Linked DNA regions of Homo sapiens: regions 1, 3 and 4 are each linked to region 2. Evidence: promoter capture Hi-C in 16 types of primary human blood cells and fetal thymus (Javierre and others, 2016). All regions are on one chromosome and are shown on one strand. Each heading gives the region's core, a stretch centred on a gene start or on the middle of the fragment in contact. The rest is flanking DNA. Distances are from core to core; before and after follow the strand shown.

What was found. The method cuts DNA at HindIII sites, captures the fragments that hold promoters and counts their contacts. A CHiCAGO score of 5 or more calls a contact.
Region 1: a fragment that was not itself captured here is called in contact with the fragment with the promoter of BRWD3 in region 2 in 1 of 17 cell types (total B cells); the score reaches 5.4 in total B cells.
Region 3: a fragment that was not itself captured here is called in contact with the fragment with the promoter of BRWD3 in region 2 in 1 of 17 cell types (total CD8 T cells); the score reaches 5.5 in total CD8 T cells.
Region 4: a contact is called between a fragment that was not itself captured here and the fragment with the promoter of BRWD3 in region 2, in 1 of 17 cell types (M1 macrophages). The highest score is 5.1, in M1 macrophages.

The regions. Positions count from the first base shown.
Region 1 is chrX:81,327,943-81,330,767 of GRCh38, forward strand. It overlaps LOC124905203 (a long non-coding RNA gene), which reads left to right. Exons shown (of 3, transcript XR_007068279.1): 3 at 1-334. Among named protein-coding and RNA genes, the nearest start is that of SH3BGRL, 130 kb to the left of the region's middle. The HindIII fragment of the contact is 514 bases long and covers 1,110-1,623 here.
Region 2 is chrX:80,808,488-80,811,187 of GRCh38, forward strand. BRWD3 (bromodomain and WD repeat domain containing 3) reads right to left here and starts at 1,390. Exons shown (of 41, transcript NM_153252.5): 1 at 954-1,390; 2 at 759-817; 3 at 526-555; 4 at 52-111. The coding sequence starts at 984. LOC124905202 (a long non-coding RNA gene) reads left to right here and starts at 321. Exons shown (of 2, transcript XR_007068278.1): 1 at 321-806. RefSeq lists an enhancer at 1,625-1,704. The HindIII fragment of the contact is 3,163 bases long and covers 871-2,700 here.
Region 3 is chrX:81,368,823-81,371,649 of GRCh38, forward strand. No RefSeq gene overlaps it. Among named protein-coding and RNA genes, the nearest start is that of SH3BGRL, 170 kb to the left of the region's middle. The HindIII fragment of the contact is 4,233 bases long and covers 1-2,827 here.
Region 4 is chrX:81,389,760-81,392,459 of GRCh38, forward strand. No RefSeq gene overlaps it. Among named protein-coding and RNA genes, the nearest start is that of SH3BGRL, 190 kb to the left of the region's middle. The HindIII fragment of the contact is 2,012 bases long and covers 261-2,272 here.

The DNA of each region.
Region 1 (2,825 bases), core at 117-2,616, 520 kb after region 2:
CCCCCAGAATAGTAGAGCCACAGGCAGTGTGCAATACCAGCTAGGAAAAGTCACAGGCATTCAACTCCAACTTGTGAGAGCAGCCACGTGGGCTACATCCTGGAAACCTATGTGGGCAGGTCTTCCGAGGGTCTTGGGAGCCCACCCCTCACACCAGTGTGCCCAAGATGTAGGACATCGATGTCAAAGGAGATTGTTCTGGAGCTTTAAGATGTAATATAATCCCAGCAGTTAGAAAGGCCAAGGCAATAGGGTCACATGCGCCCAGGAGTTCAAGACCTTCCTGGGCAACATAGGGAGACCCTGTCTCTGTGAAAAGTAAAACAAATTAGCCTGGCATGGTGGCACACACCTGTGATCCTAGCTACTTAAGATGCTGAGGTAGGAGGGTCAGTAGGGTCCAGGAGATTGAGGCTGCAGTGAGCCATGATCGTGCCACTGCACTCCAGTCTGGGTGACAGAGCAAGACTCTGTCTCAAAAAAAGAAAAAAAAAAGGATTTAATTCTGCATGTCTGCCCTGCTGGGTTTCAGATTTACATGGGGCTTATTTTTTTTTTTTTTTTGGCCTATTTCTCCCTTTTGGAATGGGAAAGTCTACCAAATATCTGTCCCACCATTATATCTTGGAAGTAAATAACTTGCTTTTTATTTTATAGGCTCATAGCTGAAAGGAACTTGCCTGAGTCTTCAATGAGACTGGATTTTGGACTTTAGAGTTAATGCTGGGACAAGTTAAGACTTTTGAGACTACTGAGATGAAATGACGTATGTGAGAAGAATATGAGTTGAGGGGGAGGGGAAGAATGCTTTGGTTTGGATAGCATTTGGATGATTGCTTTGGTCCCACCACAACACCTTGAAATTTGGTCCCCAGTGTGGCAGTGTTGGGAGGAGGGGCCTAGTGAAAGGTGTTTGGGAAATGGAGGAGGATTCCTCGTGAAAGGCTTGGTGCTATTCTTATAGTAGTGAATGTTTTTTGTCATTTATTAATGTGCTTTACATTTATTTGATGTGTTCCTTGTTTTTTTATATTTATGTTACATTGTTTGGAATTGGAAAGGAATTTAAGAGATCATTTGGCCCAGGGATACAAAATGTCTTACATAAAAGCTTCCACACTTATTCCCTTGTCCGTGCCAGATACTGTTTAAATGATTATAGTGATCTTTCCTATGGAGTCTCAGAATTCTTCTGAACACATTACTTTAGGAAGATGCTACCAATCATTAGATCTGGCACAGGAGTTAAAACCTATTTGCTACTTCAATCTAGTCTAGACAATCTCATTTTACCAACAAGGAAACTGAAATACAGAAAAATCAAATGATACCCCAGGACTCAAAACTTGTAACATGCAAAGGAAGAATAATTCTGGTGCTTCTTACTCAATCCAGTGGTATTTCTACTATATGTCTTTTAAGGTCATCTTGAAAGAGAAATTTTCTGAAGTAACAGGAAAATTACTATGAAGTGCACACTTCAAGATTTTCTTGAAAAACGTGCATTTCTGTTTTCAGTGCTAATCAACCCTGGTTATGACTAGTGTCTTAGAAAACACCAAAAAGAGTTGTTTATTTGAACAACATATGATATAAGCCCAGTATGAAATATTTGTTAAGTAAAGCTTTTCTGAGTGAAATAAGTGTGTGTGTGTATTTGTTCTCTCCCCCACTCCATCTCAAGCACCAAGTAACTCTTGGGACCCCCTAAGCCTTTTTAAAGAACAGTTTGAAAGCCATTACACTCGAGAAACAAATGTTTCTGCCTAAAGGAACTGTAAATATTATACATTCATAATTTAAAGTATATTTTTTCAACTCAGATACCATATCTATTTGTCAAACACAAAGAGTCATAGACTGATATTTCCCTGAATTATGCCAATGGACTTCATATATATAACAAACTAGTGATTCATTTTTAATGTACTTGATTAATAAGCAGATTTTATATTGGATTGTTAAATCAGGCAAGTGATACTACAGGAGACTATCTATGGATAAATAAGGCAAAATAATTGAAATATACTTTACTATTTATCCTTTGGGCTGCTACCATTACAAGCACTTATTCTGTGTTAGATATGTTGTACACAGTGCTATTATTTTTCAAAATTAACCTGAAATAAAGTCTCAGCTCAGTATTCTTGACATAGAAGGGAGGGAGTCAGAAAACTCCAGGTCCCAAATGTTCTTTAGCTTGTTACACCCTTCACACACACACAGTCCGAAATAATGTAAAGTAGCCTTAACTTGAGTCATTTATTTTCAACCCATTATAATAATTACCTTCAAACTTTTTGGTTATGATCTCCAGTGAGAAATATACCTTAAATCATGACTCAATAAATAAGTAAATATAGATCTATAAGTATGTAAGACTTTATCTACATCAGTCACTATATACATATTCATAAGCATGTATATCTCCCCATTCATACTGTAATTGGAAAATAAATTTAATGAAACTTCTTTTTTCTTGTCCTACTTTCTCCAATGTAGTTAGCAGTAGCCTGTCAATATCATTATATGCATTAGTTTCACAAAAATGTCCTAAGCTGTCAAATGCATGATAACCCAGAACCTTGCCTTTATAAGTATTTAATTAGAAGTATCCAATGGTCAAATTTTGCATATCTCTATTGACACATCATGCTGTGGACAGAGTGCCCTGTTTATCACTTGAAAGAGAGTCTGTAATGTCTTTAATTTGATTAGAGAAAAATTTCCAGAAAACCCAGAACCAAACCCGAAAATTCATCTTTAAGAAATCATCATATATACCATAAATATATATAATTTTTATTTATCGGTTAAAAAATAGA
Region 2 (2,700 bases), core at 140-2,639:
GGAGGGAGTGGTGAAAGAGTTAGGTTAAGTTGAAATGAAAACTTTACTCACCAGATCCTCGAAGCTTCTTCGGTGCTCTTTCCCCTCCCAATCTAAGCGGCGCGGAATCAGCTGGGGGCCGGACGAAAAGAAAGGGGGAAGCGGAGGCAAATGATGAAGGAAAAGCCTCCGCTCCCCATCAACTGGACCCAACCTGTGTCCCAGTCCTCAACACTTTACCGTCTTTATTTCTCTCGGCCTGATAGCTATTGGCTCAGAGCTAGACAAGTATATGGGGGGGGGGGGGAAGGGGGGTCGAGAAGGAAATCCTGAAAAACTGCCTCCCACAAGCATAAAGCGGGGACGAGTTAAGACCCCAGCGTTGTCTGCCCCTTTTGAGGGAAGAAGCCAATTCACCCCGGTGACAACAGCTACGGGTACCCAGATCGAAGCCTCTATCCCAGCCCGTCTTCCGCCCCTGACTTGCCCTCCCCTTCCTCCAGTCTCACCTCAACCCTCCCCACCCTTCCCGAAGGGGCTCCGTACCTGATGCTCCTCGAGCTCCTGCACTAGCACCTGAGCAAAAGGGAAACACAGATATGAGGAGCAGCTCGGGCCATCAACCCATTCCTCCCTCCACACTTAAAGCCCAGCCGCTGACCGTTTGACTAGTCAAGGCCGGCCTTTCCCTCACCCTCAACGGAACTGCTCGTCCCGCTGCCTCGATTTCCCCACTGGGACCATTCACCACGACTCCCAGATCTCTTTCTTCCCCTTACCTGAGCGGATTTGTTGCAGGGTCCAGACTGCAAGAACCTAGCGATCAGGTAATACAGCTCTGGGGAAGAGGGGGGAAAAGAGGTTCAGAGGGAGGTAGAGAAGAGAAATAGAAGCTTTTTCAAAAGAAACTGACAGCCTTCGCGCTAAGCCCCCATTCCCTTAGCACCCCCCCACCCCCCGACACAGCTACCCACCGGCTTCGATCTGGGTAGGTGCTGCCGCCATCCTTTTCCCGAGGGGGTTTGGGGGCTTCGCTCCGGAGGGGCTGGCGGGGGCGGGTGGGGGCGCTGCCTCTATTGTGGTGAAGCCCCCATGCCCGGGAGTCCCGCCGCTTCCGCCGCACTCCTCGTCCTAGTTTCGCTCTCTCTCGAATTCATCGCATCACGTTTCGACCCATAGATATTCTAGCCCAAGAGCTGAGGAGGCGGAGGAGGAAGGAGAGGAGAGGGAGAGGGAGAGAGAGAGTGAGTGAGTGAGAGAGAGAGAGAGAAGAGAGAGAGAGAGAGAGGAAAAAGAGAGAGAGAGAGAGAGAGAGAGAGAGAGAGAGAGAGAGAGAGACGCGGGGGGTGGGGGGGCGGAGAGAGAGAGAGAGAGAGAGATAGACGGAGCGAGAAGAGGGAGGAGCCGAAGTGGCGAAGAGGTGGGCGGGGGCAAAGGGGGTGGAGAGAGGGGAGGGTAAAAATGGTGATAGGGTTTTGCAGCGCTCATAGTTCCCCGCTAGAGGCACTAATACAGCAGCTGAGCCTAGACTCTCCCGGAGCCCGATGGTTGCTTAGCTACAGCTCTGGGAAGGAGGGGGAGGTGCTAACTGACGGCCGACGCTCTGGCAGCCGCCTTGGAACTCTGTGGTGGCATTCGCGTCTGCGAGCTCCGGAGTGACTTTCCCTTCCTGTGAAGGCAATCCGGCCCTTTCCGGTGGAGGACCCTTCCCCCTGGGTTGATCTTGAGGAACTTAAGAGACGGTGTTTTGACTCGACTCCTTTCCCCTTTTTCCTCCCGGTACCAAAGCGGTTTTGTTTGCTGTTTATACTCTACCCCGTGGAAAGGCGGCTAGCTGGCTAAAGGGTTTTATGCCTGGGGGAGGATGAGTCGCTATTTGGTCGTGACTTGTTTCTGTTTAAAATTATTATTATTTACCAAATGAAAATGTTGTACTTACCAGTCCAAAGTGCGGGGCTTATATTGTTAGAAGACCACTTAAAATGCTCCTGGATTCTGACAAATATTGCATGAGAAATTTGCAATCAGCCGTGAAGCATGTTTCCCCTTCTGAAAGTTTAACACGTGCCGTATCTACGGCTGGGATCTAACACATCCCATTCCTACAGGGTAATTTCCTATTGTGTTTTCAAATACTACTAAAGTACTTTAACCAAGAGTTTTCAATAATCTTTATGTATTATTGCCTATCTCTATGCAAGGTATCAATAGTTTTCTACAGGTTCGGGACTACACTGTTTAATATATAACCCCAACCCTTGGTACCGCACTGACCTTCAGTATTTGGTTGCTGAAATCTTCAATGATGAAAGGGGTTGGTATGATAATTGACACAGATTAGTAAACCGGGTCCTTTTCTTCCCTACTTTCCCGTAACATCCTGTCCCCACCCCACTCCCTCACCTAAACCTGATGAGACCAGAAATGCATTTTAAGTTGCATGTATTATTTACATTGAAATATTACAATTTGAAGGTTCATCTAAATTTAAGGCTATATTCTTGGGAATTGGGTTTCCTCACTCAGCTCTGCCACTGACCACAGTGGGCCTTGAATTTCTAAGTTGACATAAACTTAGCCTAGGTTGATTAGCTCTCACTTGTAATTTTTTTTTTTCCTCAGAAAGCAATAACCACAGGAGGTAATTGTGAAGTGATAGGCTTATCTTTGGTTGTTATTGCCATGGAACTTGACAAAACAAATATGAATAATTGATACAAC
Region 3 (2,827 bases), core at 159-2,658, 560 kb after region 2:
AGTATTGAGATTCCCGTTTCAAAATCCTGCTCAGTATCACTAGTATCCCTAGGCTTGGGCCCTACTTTTTTCATACAGTTTCTAAGTAACTGAAGACCTATTCCAGAACCTCAAACTTTGACTGGACCTTCCTCACTCTTACTCACCTTTCTTGATTCTCTTTTGCTTTGTTTTCAATCTTTATTGCTGTGTGCTTCTTTAAGATCACTTGCTTCTTGATATACTATACAAATGCAGGTTGACTTGGAATTATATATTGCCTGACACCTGTTGACCAAATTAAGTGATCTGAGAGGACCACATTTTGGATGCTGGATATTGATTATCCTGAGCATTTATTCCTGCTTTATATGTCAACTAAAACTTAAAAACTACTGATAGTGCATTGTGCTTCATAAAGAAAGGTATTTCTGTTTCAAACACTGAGGACTTATACTTTAAGGCTCAACTATAAAAAAGTGTCCATGCCCTCAGAAGACCTGTCTATGTGAAGTTTTCTGAATGAGCTTTGCCCATGAACTGAAAATTTTATTACCTATTAAATGCCTGTCTATTTAGCAGGGAGCGTGCTGCTATTATTCATTGTCATTCAGTGATAATAATAGTTACCATTTGGAGTATCTATTATGTGGTACGCACTCTGCTAAGAGCTTTATTCACATTATCTCAATTATTTCAACAACCTTATTATATTATTACCCCTATTTTAGACAGGAGGAAATTAAAATTGAGAAAAGTTAAAAATTTGTCCAAGATTATGCAGCTCATCAGGGTGAGTATTCAAATGAAGTTATTTTGACATCAGAACCTCTGCTTTTAACTAGGGTTGCCAGATGTATCAAATAAAAATACAGGATACTTGGTTAAATTTGAATTTCAGATAATCGACAAATTATATTTTAGTATAAAGTATGTCCTCATGCAATATTTGGGACACACTAATACTAAAACATTATTTCATTATTAATCTGAAGTCCAAATTTAACTGGGCATCCTGGCAACCCTACCTTAAAAACTACCCTATACTTTTCCCAGGGTTATTAAAAAAACAGAGAGAATGTGCAATATAGGGAGTAGTAGAGCAGAACCTGAAGGCAGTTGGTGGAGAATTGAGGGACCCAATGAAGGAGGTAAAGACCAATAATTCTGGAGGCTGTAAATACAAGGTACCATTTATAGAGGCATTACCTTGAAGGAGAGCTTGGGAGAAAGATTTGTCTTCTAGGGACTCTATAGTCTACCAGAGATTTTTTTTTTCCTGTGGTAGGTGTGTAGAGACATCCCTGTTTCAATCCTGTTACACAACTGAATCATGTAATGAAACAGGTGGAAAGAGAGCTGGAAAGAGCAAAGAATGCATAATGAGAATATTTATGTTTTAATAATGTTGCAACTCAGCCACTCACTAACTGCCTGACAAGACACACTGTTTCTCCCAGTCTCAATCTCCTCATCTGGAAAATGAGGATAGCAACACTTGCCCCAACTATATCACAGGAATTTTATGAAAATTAAAGGGAGGTGAGAAGACTTGGTAAGTGGTAAAATATTCTACTAATATAAATCCTTTCGATAAACATCAGCACAATTCTAACAAATTAATTAATCATCATGTTCAAGGTTGGGATGGGGGAAGCATTTATTTTTTGCCAACCTAAAAAATACTTTGAATAAATCCCTTCTGATTACTTAATAGGACCACCTCAAAGTAAAATAAGAGATGAGAGTCCACACAAGCTGCTACTGTTTACTGCTGGGAGTGACAGACTTGTGTGTTCTACAGGGATATATGAAGAGAAAGATTTCTCTGGCTGTTTCCAAATGTTTGAGAAACTTTATAGCATTTTGATTTAAAATAACATTTCTGAACATAAATAAATAAATATTTCTGATAGAGCAGGAAATTTAAGCTGGATGATTTGTAATGAGAAATCATATTGTAAATGCTGGAGGAGAGAAACATAAACTTAGTTTAATTCACAGTACTTTCTATTACACTAAAGTGTAGAGAGACTGGTGAGAACCTTTGTGGAAGAGTTATGGTAGGTTTCAGCAGCAAATGCTGTAGCTATAGTAGTTTATTTTTCTAACTGAATGTAATATTGGCAAAGATTAGGATATCACGTAAAAGAGAGAGCTGACTCCATACTGTCAAGGAAGCATGACAGCAGGACTGTATAATTGGTACAATTTGACTTCTAGCTTCCCCATCCTAGATCCTTTACCTAATAATAATAATAATAGTAATAAAGTTATAAATAACAGAGACTTTACCATTGCAATAGATACTTCACTACCTTGTAAGGATAATTCACTCACCTTATAAGGTGAGGAAAAAATGGGTAGTGTAAGTCAAGGGTCTCATATGATATTGGAACCCCTTGAAGACTCAATAAATTATCAGTGTCATTGTTATTTTATTATATTTATCATTATTCCCATGTTATATATGAAGAAATTGAGATGTGTTCCATCCTGTGACTTGAGGTGCTCAATAATTCAGTTTTTCCATAATCAAAAGCTCATGCCCAGATAAAAGTCATTTCTAATTGAGTGTGATTATGTCAATGTTCTTTCTCCCAGAAGGGTCTGCCTTTATAAACCTAAATTCTCCATGTGTAACAACAGGTTCTGTGCTCCGAAAAGGGCATTCAGGCTTCAGCCAGAAATGGTGTGGGATGAGAATTTGAGTCTCCCATGCTAGTTTCTCAAAAGTCCACTACCTATATAACCCTGAATCTTTTTAGGTCTTAAGTCAGCCCTATGGGGGTAACAGTGTTAGTGCCATTCATTAGGCATGTTATGACTTGAAGCTCAGGAGGATGGG
Region 4 (2,700 bases), core at 17-2,516, 580 kb after region 2:
TTCCACTCTCATTTGCTGCCCTTGCTTCTCTCTCCTCAAAATCATACATCCTATTATTTGTTTCCAAGCCAAATCACCTCAGGTTTCTGGAAAAAAAAAAAAACTAAGAAGGTTTAATTGTCTGAAAGCAACTTCTTTTTTCAGTACTGAATTTCATCCCTCCCCTGATACAAGAAGGAACAAGGAAAGGAAAAAATACAGTCAGAACAAAACACATATGTTTTATTGTGGATTGCCTTGAAAGCTAAGCCTTATTCAAAAGCTTTGCATGCACATAGTTTGTTTGCAAAGTTATCTCAGATACTGGTAGTGAAGAACCAGGGAGATTGAAACATGACAGAAGAAAAATTCATTATCATTATGCAGAATCATGTTTGCTGCTGCTATGGATAACTGATGTTCAGTCTGGATGGACTCTTGTGAGGAGACATATAAAATGCACCTCAGAATGGTTTGCCTAAAGGATATTGTCTGTCCATTGACCTCTGATGTGTATTTAGTTGAGGATTGGGCTATTGGGTGTTAAACCTTAGTAATTTTCCTACTGAGCATGTGTGAATGCAGAGTGAGATTCCATAGTCATTCCATGATGTGGTGTCAGAGAAGCCCTGAAACAGAAACTGAGCAATATGTAGGACAGCTGGATATGAGGTGCTGTCAGCATGAAGTGAAATTGAAACTCACATAGTGCTGTTAGGCACTGTATGGCTCAAATCAGATATGAGGGCAAGACAATGTGAGGAAGTGCTCAAGATGACTTTTATAGAGTCTGCCCTTTGCACCACTCACAATCTCTTATTTCCTCCACTACATTTTTAGTGAAGTAGCTAACTGCCTTCTCTACCAAATACAATACATGAAGGCAATTAATGGAATATGCTATTGTCCCTGCTGTTGCAACTGGTCTAAAGTCCATATTGATATTCATTGTCTCACTCTTCTACCTGCAGTTTATTTTTCCCTCACTCTCAGCCATCACTGTAGTTATTACAGGTTGCTTGTCTGGTGGGATGACCAAAAATTTCAGCCTAAAGGGCTTTGGGCCCTTGGTTGACTTGCTTTTGCCAGGCTGTGATATCTGTATTTGTTCATTTATCATTATCATGAGGCATGAATGCACAAAGAAATACCCCAGTATCCTTGGGTTCTAAAAATTTCTCTCTACCTCAATCATGTGACAGTAAACCTAGCTCCACAAGGTGATTTGGGTCAGTTTTCCCCAGTAATATTAACTGTTTTTTTTTCTGCTTTCTGGTGCCTTTCATAAAAAATCCAAAAGAATTAAGTGGCAGATTGTTGTAACTTCATGTTCAATGGCATCCTTCCACTCTCCTTTTGTAGAAGCATTCTCCATTGAAAGCAAAGTCTCAAATCTGGCAGCGTCTAAGGGTTTAGGGATGAATAACCAAAGTCTACAAGTGTTGGAGAGAGGTGGCAATCCCATTGTTGCCTGGAACAATTTATTTCAGCTACTGCGGACACAAAATCATATTATATCAACTATTGTTTTAATGAATATACTACATACTGGAGCATCATGGTCCAACCTTTTAGAGTGAGTTCCCAAATAGAACCTACACTGGGTCTCTGCTAGGCCATTCAACTAAGCGGGCTGATTTCAGATTATATGATACGTGGTAGAACTAGTAACCCTGGGTGTAAGAGCACTAATTTAATTCACCTGCAACAAAGTGGCTGGATGGTATTATACATATCAAGGGCTCAGTGTCAGTCTCTGCTGCTAGCAGATTGGGCATTCAGCATAGAGGTAGCTATATCAACCTTTGTGAGGGGAAACTCATGCCTAGCTTTTATTTCTGCTACCATAGCCACTTTATTCAATGTACCATTAAAAAAGCACTGGGGTAGCTTAGGTGAGAGGCTGGCTGATATCCGTAGGATAAATTATCCTGTTCTCTTAGATATTGAGGAGCTCCTTAACATTAATGTTTGTCACAAACTTCATCCTTCACCCATTCCATAGGTCATCCCTGTACTGCTACTCTAGACCCCCTTGTCTCCAATTTCAGTCTTGCTATTTCTAGATTTCAAACGATCCAGTGAGTACATTTAACACCACCCAGACATCTATGGCTATCCACGCTTCTGGCCATTTCTTGTTCTAGGCTGTATCAGTTAGCTGTTTCTACAAAATAAATCACCTCAAAACCCAGTTGCTTAAAACAGTAAACTTGTATTTTCATTAATAACCCAAAAAAATGTTAGCTAGATAGTTCTGTTTTCCTGGATCAGCGTTGGTTTATTTCATCCAAGCTTGTTCAGGCACCTGCAGTCAACTGGTGGAACAGCTGGGAGATGGCTGGTATAGGAGGGCCTTACTTACGTGTCTGGTAGTTTGTTGCCTGTTGCCTAGGGCAGTTGGAGCCACATGGCAATTATCATCCAGAAGACTGTCTCAGACTTCTTCACATGGTGATACCAGGGTTCTGAAAGACAGAAGAGAAGCTTATTGAGTACTAGGCCCAGAATTGGTACTTATGCTGCATTTAATGAATCAAACAAATCGCCACGCCCACCCATTGTCAAGGAGTGGGGAAATAGACACTATCTTTTAATGGGAGGAGTTGAAAAGTCAGAAACAACAGGGTAAATCATTTCAGTTATTATTGCAATTAATTAACTATACACTAAGTTTATAACCAGGTGTACTAGTTAAAACAACCTCCCTACTTTTGTCCT